2 separate regions of the Homo sapiens genome follow, and region 2 is linked to region 1. The links are contacts of gene promoters, found by promoter capture Hi-C in human tissues and cell types (Jung and others, 2019). All regions are on one chromosome and are shown on one strand. Each heading gives the region's core, a stretch centred on a gene start or on the middle of the fragment in contact. The rest is flanking DNA. Distances are from core to core; before and after follow the strand shown.

Evidence for each region. The method cuts DNA at HindIII sites, captures the fragments that hold promoters and counts their contacts. A contact is called where the count stands out against the background at its distance.
Region 2: a fragment that was not itself captured here is called in contact with the fragment with the promoter of HSD17B14 in region 1 in 2 of the 25 tissues and cell types used here (aorta and dorsolateral prefrontal cortex).

Annotation. Positions count from the first base shown.
Region 1 is chr19:48,834,102-48,837,822 of GRCh38, forward strand. HSD17B14 (hydroxysteroid 17-beta dehydrogenase 14) reads right to left here and starts at 2,390. Exons shown (of 9, transcript NM_016246.3): 1 at 2,223-2,390; 2 at 1,704-1,742; 3 at 175-257. The coding sequence starts at 2,310. PLEKHA4 (pleckstrin homology domain containing A4) reads right to left here. Exons shown (of 20, transcript NM_020904.3): 20 at 2,996-3,450. The coding sequence ends at 3,188. RefSeq lists a silencer at 3,298-3,367. The HindIII fragment of the contact is 14,395 bases long and covers 1-3,721 here.
Region 2 is chr19:49,630,816-49,634,452 of GRCh38, forward strand. No RefSeq gene overlaps it. Among named protein-coding and RNA genes, the nearest start is that of RRAS, 7.5 kb to the right of the region's middle. RefSeq lists an enhancer at 1,761-2,260. The HindIII fragment of the contact is 5,234 bases long and covers 1-3,637 here.

The sequences.
Region 1 (3,721 bases), core at 1,140-3,639:
CATCAGTCACAGAAGACCTTGTGTGTGGAGTGACACTGGGTGGAAACCTTTGACGAGTCCAGCGGAGCCAGGAGAGGAAGGAAAAGTAGAGGGAAAGGCATATGCAAATGGCTGGAGGAGAACAAAGAACTGGTCATTAGCGGAGATGGGGGTAGGAACAGGAACTCGGCTTACCTTCACATCATCTTCCTGAGTCACATCACAGAGGATAAAGACAGCTCCAGGGAGCTCCTGCTCCAGGGCCCGGCCCCCAGACTCTGCAGGGAGAGAAGAGCTGGGAGCCTGGACCCCTGGGTCTCAGGGAGGAGGGGTTGGGGACTTGGACTCCTGGGTCTGAGGGAGGAGGTGCTGGGGGCCTGGACTCCTGGGTCTGAGGGAGGAGGGGCTGAGGTCTGGACTCCTGGGTCTGAGGAAGTAGGGCCTGGGGGCCTGGACTCCTGGGTCTGAGGGAGGAAGGGCTGGGAGCCTGGACTCCTGGGTCCGAGGAAGTAGGGCCTGGGGGCCTGGACTCCTGGGTCTGAGGGAGGAAGGGCTGGGAGCCTGGACTCCTGGGTCCGAGGAAGTAGGGCCTGGGGGCCTGGACTCCTGGGTCTGAGGGAGGAAGGGCTGGGAGCCTGGACTCCTGGGTCTGAGGGAGGAGGGGCTGGGAGCCTGGACTCCTGGGTCTGAGGGAGGAGGGGCTGGGAGCCTGGACTCCTGGGTCTGAGGGAGGAGGGGCTGGGGGCCTGGACTCCTGGGTCTGAGGGAGGAGGGGCTGAGGTCTGGACTCCTGGGTCCGAGGAAGTAGGGCCTGGGGGCCTGGACTCCTGGGTCTGAGGGAGGAAGGGCTGGGAGCCTGGACTCCTGGGTCTGAGGGAGGAGGGGCTGGGGGCCTGGACTCCTGGGTCTGAGGGAGGAGGGGCTGAGGTCTGGACTCCTGGGTCCGAGGAAGTAGGGCCTGGGGGCCTGGACTCCTGGGTCTGAGGGAGGAGGTGCTGGGAGCCTGGACTCCTGGGTCTGAGGGAGGAGGGGCTGGGGGCCTGGACTCCTGGGTCTGAGGGAGGAGGGGCTGAGGTCTGGACTCCTGGGTCCGAGGAAGTAGGGCCTGGGGGCCTGGACTCCTGGGTCTGAGGGAGGAGGTGCTGGGAGCCTGGACTCCTGGGTCTGAGGGAGGAGGGGCTGGGGGCCTGGACTCCTGGGTCTGAGGGAGGAGGGGATGGGGGCCTGGACTCCTGGGTCTGAGGGAGGAGGGGCTGGGAGCCTGGACTCCTGGGTCTGAGGGAGGAGGGGCTGAGGTCTGGACTCCTGGGTCTGAGAAAGTAGGGCCTGGGGGCCTGGACTCCTGGGTCTGAGGGAGGAGGTGCCAGAGCCTGGACTCCTGGGTCTGAGGGAAGAGGGGCTGGGAGCCTGGACCCCTGGGTCTGAAGGAGGAGGGGTTGGGGACTTGGATTCCTGGGTCTGAGGGAGGAGGTGCCGGAGCCTGGACTTCTGGGTCTGAGGGAGGAGGGGCTGGGGACCTGGACTCCTGGGTCTGAGGGCAGAGGGGCTGGGGGCCTGGACTCCTAGGTCTGAGGGAGGAGGGGCTGAGGTCTGGACTCCTGGGTCTGAGGAAGTAGGGCCTGGGGGCCTGGACTCCGGGGTCTGAGGGAGGAGGTGCTAGGGGTCTGGACCTCTGGGTCTGAGGGAGGAAGGGCCAAGGTGAGGGCTGAGGGACCGTCACTCACCATCCTTGTCGCAGATAACCACTCGGGCCCCGCTGTTCACTGAGAATAGGAAGGGAACAGGTTACTCTCCGAGCCTTGGTTAAAGCCTCTGCCGCCCTCTTGTGGCCACCTGGATTGGGGCTGATCTCCCTCTCCCCTCGTGACCCCAGTCTCATGATCACCCATAGGACAGAGGGCAGACGCCTTGACACATACTCTCCTTGCCTTGTTTCTGCTGAGGCTCCTGAACCCCCGTTCGTGGCTTCCGGAGCAAACTCCACGACTGACAGAGCCATTCCTCAAACCACTGGTTTTGTAGCTACACCAACAGACCCAGAGAAAGGGGCCACTGCCTTCGGAGACCCTGCCAGACTCAGCCCTAGCCTACAGCGCCACACGCTTACTTTAGCCTGCAAATTGGCTTTTATAATATCAGAATCCTGGCTGCAGTACTGGAGTCCCTATTTTCCGCCCCCATCACCCCGCCCCCATCCTTCCTTTCTCACACTCCACAGCTCCCAGCAGTCAGACCCGGCTCACCGAAGGCGCGCACGATCCCAGCTCCGATGCCGCGCCCGCCCCCGGTCACGACCACCACCTTCCCGGCATAGCGCGTTCCCGTAGCCATCCCGTGTACGTCGGTCTCTCTCTCTCTCTACTCTGGGCCTCTTTCACCTCCAAAGCCCCGTGAGGCCGTCGCATCAAATCCTCAATAGAGGCTGGATCCTGGAAGTCCGGCCTCGGGGGGCGTTGCCAGGAAGGCTAGAGACCTGGAAGTTTGTCCCCAGCCCCTCCTCCCTCAGACACTCCTCTCTTCCCACAGACCCAGGAATCCAGGAGCCCCAGTCCCTCCTCCCACAGACCCAGGAATCCAGAAGCCTCAGTCCCTCCTCCCTCAGACTCGGGAGTCCAGGCCCCCAGCCCCTCCTCCCTCAGACTCGGGAGTCCAGCCTCCCAGCCCCTCCTCCCTCAGACCCGGGAGTCCAGCCTCCCAGCCCCTCCTCCCTCAGACCCAGGAGTCAGGGTCCCAGCCCCTCCTCCCTCAGACCCGGGAGTCCAGCCTCCCAGTCCCTCCTCCCTCAGACCCAGGAGTCAGGGTCCCACCCCTTCCTCCCTCAGACCCGGGAATCCTGGCCCAGCCCCCTCCACTCTCAGACCGAGGGATCAGGTTCTCTATCCCTTCTTCCCAGAGACCTATAAGTCCAAGCCCCCTGTCCCTTCCTCTCTCAGGACCCAGGAGTCCACGACTCCAGCTCTGCCCCTCAGAGACACCAGTGCCACAACCCCAGACAGACAGAAAGAAAGCTATTGACTAAAAGTTCAAAGTTTTAATCCAAATTTAGACAGTGTTGAGAAAACCAAACTTTGGCCATAGAAACCATTCCCCTCCCGGGCCCGCAATGGGGACCAGACCACGCCCCCTGATGCCCTGAGTGGTCCCAGATCTCCGGCGGTACCTCCAGACCACGTCCTCGCGCTCCGATTGGCTGCCGCTTTTGGGCGGATTAGAAGCTGGATTGTAGCAGAGTGACTCGCAGAGGCCATGCCCCCTCGTCTTGTGGCAGGACCGGAGGGGCGATCCCGGCATCCCACGCGGGCCCCCAGGGGGTGGGACCTCCTCCACGCCCACTCCCTCGGCGAGAGAACCCCGTGGAACCCGAATTAGCCACCGGGGGAGATCTGGGGGGAGGGGTCTCCTGGCGCGTGGGGTCCGAAGGAGGCAGCGGCACACCGGGAAGAGGGTCTCCCTGGGAGTCCAAATTTCCACCTGGAGAGGATGAGTGGGACATGAGAATGGCAAACCTCAGCGCTAGGACCCCGGATTCCCAGCCCCTCCTCCCTCAGACCCAGGACTCCGGATTCCCAGCCCCTCCTCCATCAGACCCAGGAGTCCAGGCCCCCAGCCCCTCCTCCCTCAGACCCAGGAGTCCAGGCCCCCAGCCCCTCCTCCCTCAGATCCAGGAGTCTGGATACGCCAGTCCAGTCCTCTTTGAGACTCAGTTGTCGGCCCTCTCCCCGCCCCCTGACCTCTTCCTCCC
Region 2 (3,637 bases), core at 1,068-3,567, 800 kb after region 1:
GACTCCGTCTTGAAAAAAAAAAAAAAAGATGGGGACATCAAAACCTGGAAAGCTTTAGAATCGTTGCTAGGGCCTGCCAGAGCTCAGGGGAGGGGAGGAACCGAATACATAATTTCTGGCACTAACAGTACCTAGGGAGATGCCAGCCTTTTTGCTGTTGTGTGTTGATCTTTGGGACACTGGTGGCTGTAAACCTTCCAAAAATGGTCTGCCAGTTGTCTTGAGCATTTGGGGGGCAAGCGGTAACTTTAATCACCTTCTCAAAGTGCATCTTGGTCCTACTAGAAGCAGGGTGCCCCAGCCAAGAAGTTGGCCCCATCGGGCAGTGCAGGAAAGACTCTGATCCTCTGCAGGGGGCATGTGGATGGTGAGATCTGGGAAGAGAGATGTTGGCACAGGACTCCTTCCTGTTGGGGGCTCAGTACCCGCAGCTGGGGCTTAGGTGGAAGTGTCAGAGCTTGTTTGGAAACTGATCAAAACATTGCCCACCCTCTTGCCCCACCACTCCCCATCCAGCAGGGGTGGACCCCTGGTGTGCAGAGTTCCTAGCAGGGAAGAGAGCCAACATGTGACAGTACATCCGAGCTGTACTTTTTCCCAGGGCAGAAGGTTGAGAACAGGCCAAAGATTCTGTGATAATAGAACCCGGAAAGGGATATTTAGCTAATCAGTTTTTTTTTTTTTTTTTTTTTTTTTGAGACAGAGTGTCGCTCTTGTTGCCCAGGCTGGAGTGCAACGGCACGATCTCAGCTCACTGCAACCTCTGCCTCCCGAGTTCAAGCGATTCTCATGCCTCACCCTCCCAAGTAGCTGGGATTACAGGCGCCCGCCACCACACCCGGCTAATTTTTGTAGTTTTAGTAGAGAGGGGGGTTTCACCATGTTGGCAAGGCTGCTCTCGAATTCCTGACCTTAGGTGATTCGCCCGCCTTGCCCTACCAAAGTGCTGGGATTACAGGCGTGAGCCACTGCGCCCAGCCTGCTAATCCGTGTTCTAATCCGGGATACAGAGGGACATTCATGGTTCTGGGGCAGAATGGAGACATGTCAGCCACAGTCATTGATGGTGAGCACTTAGTATGCGCCGGGCTCATTCCTCCTCTGCAATCGTCTCCTTTAGTCTCGTGCTCACCCTGTGAAGTAGCTTTGTACTTACCCCCATTTTACAGATGAGACTGAGGTGGCAGAGCTGGATTTGAATTCAGGCATCCCGGTCACGCAAAGGCCATGCTCCACCCTAGGACTAGGAAGCAGGTTCCAGGGTGGGTGCGAGTAGAGCATTCAGGGATCAGGGGCCTGGGTATAGGGAGCAGATGTTTGACTGCTGATAGGTTTCAGGTGGAGCCTCAAGTTCAGGGCATCGGGACATCTCGGTTGAGGTGTTTTGTTTTGTTTTTGTTTTTTTTGAGATGGACTCTCGCTCTGTCGTCCAGGCTAGAGTGCAGTGGCGCAATCTCGGCTCACTGCAACTCCACCTCCTGGGTTCACACCATTCTTCTGCCTCAGTCTCCTGAGTAGCTGGGACTATAGGCGCCTGCCACCATGCCCAGCTAATTTTTTGTATTTTTAGTAGAGACGGGGTTTCACTGTGTTAGCCAGGATGGTCTCGATCTCCTGACCTTGTGATCCACCCGCCTCAGCCTCCCAAAGTGCTGGGATTACAAGCATGAGCCACCGCGCCCGGCCGGTTGAGGTTTTTAGCCTGGTGTGTTGGGTAGATTTGGGGCTTTAAAGATGGCCGGTCACACAGGCTTGGGAGGTGGGTGGACAGTGGTCTCCAGTTGGCTTCAGCCTTCCAGGGTAGCAAATAGTGGGCAGGACTGCTCCTCCCCCAACCAGAGCTTAGGTTGGATGTGGGAGAGTCCTAAGTGTCCCCAGGCTGGGCATGGTGGATCATGCCTGTAAATCCCAGAGCTTTGGGAGGCCGAGGCAGGAGGATTGCTTAAAGGGAGGAGTTCAAGACCAGCCTGGGCCACATAGCGAGACCCCATCTCTACAACAAAATGAAAAATTAGCCAAGTGTGCACTCGTAGTCCCAGCTACTTGGGAGGCTGAGGCAGGAGGATTGCTTGAGCCCAGGAGGTTGAGGCTACAGAGTTGTGATCACGCGACTGCACTCCAGCCTGGGCAACACAGTGACACCCTGTCTCAAATAAATAAATAAAATGTAAAAAACGAAGTGTTCCTAGGACACAGATGGGCTTTGGGTATCCAGACTGAAGTGTGTCATCCATTTACCCACTGTGGCCTTAAGACACCCAACACTTCTGCTTCTCCCAGGACAGAATAGGGGGTTGGATGGGGGATGTCCACACTGACCCCAAATTGGATTAAGTGTTTAGATTCAGATTTCAGTGCTACTGGGAACTTTCTGAAAATGAGGACTTGCCAGACGGCTGCTTGGACACCATTCCACCCACCTGTCCCTTCTCGATATACATTGAAGGTGAGAGTGGGACAGGCAGGGTTTGTAGCAGTTGCTCCCTGTCTCTATTTTTGTAGACAGAGTCTAGCTCTTGCCCAGGCTGGTCTCAAACTCCTGGCCTCAAGTGATCCACCCATTTCGGTCTCCCAAAGTACTGGGCTTACAAGCGTGAGCTACCACACCCAGCTGAGTTGCTGCCTGTCTCCAATGTCCTAGAACGTTCTATTGGAATGTTCTAGAAAGCACTATCCAATAGCCCACTCAGCAATGATAGGAATGTTGTCTATCTGCCCTATCTATTAAGATAGCCACTAGAGGCTGGGTGCGGTGGCTCACGCCTGTAATCCCAGCCCTTTGGGAGGCCGAGGTGGGCAGATCACTTGAGGCCAGGAGTTCCAGACCAGTCTGGCCAACGTGGCGAAACCCCGTCTCTACCAAAAATACAAAAATTAGCCGGGCATGGTGGCATGCGCCTGTAGTCCCAGGTACTCAGGAGGTTGAGGCAGGAGAATCACTTGAGCCCAGGAAACAGAGGTTGCAGCAACTGGAGATCCTGCCACTGCACTCCAGCCTGGGTGACAGAGCGAGACTCTTGTCTAAAAAAAAAAAAAGTCACTAGCCACATGTGACAACTGAGGTCTTGAAATGTTGATTTGACTGAGGAACTAAGTTTTATTAAAATATTTTTTATTTTGTTGTTGTTGTTGTATTTGAGACGGAGTCTCGCTCTGTTGCACAGGCTAGAGTGCAATGGCACAATCTCGGCTCTCTGCAAACTCCACCTCCCGGGTTCAAGCTATTCTCATGTCTCAGCCTCCTGAGAAGCTGGGATTACAGGCGCCCACCAATGCGCCCGGCTAATTTTCGTATTTTTAATAGAGACAGGGTTTCACCATGTTGGTCAGGTTGGTCTTGAACTCCCGACCTCAGGTGATCCATCCGCGTGGGCCTCCCAAAGTGCTGGGATTACAGGCGTGAGCCATCGCGCCTGGCCTTTATTTTTATTTTTTTTATTTTTTATTTATTTATTTTTTGAGACAGTCTTGCTGTCGCCCAGGCTGGAGTACAGTGGCATCACCTTGGCTCACTGCAATTTCTGTCTCCCAGGCTCAAGCGATCCTCCTACCTCAGCCTCCTGAGTAGCTGGGACTACAGGCATGTGCCACCACACCCAGCTAATTTTTGTATTTTTGGTAGAGATGGGGGCGGGGG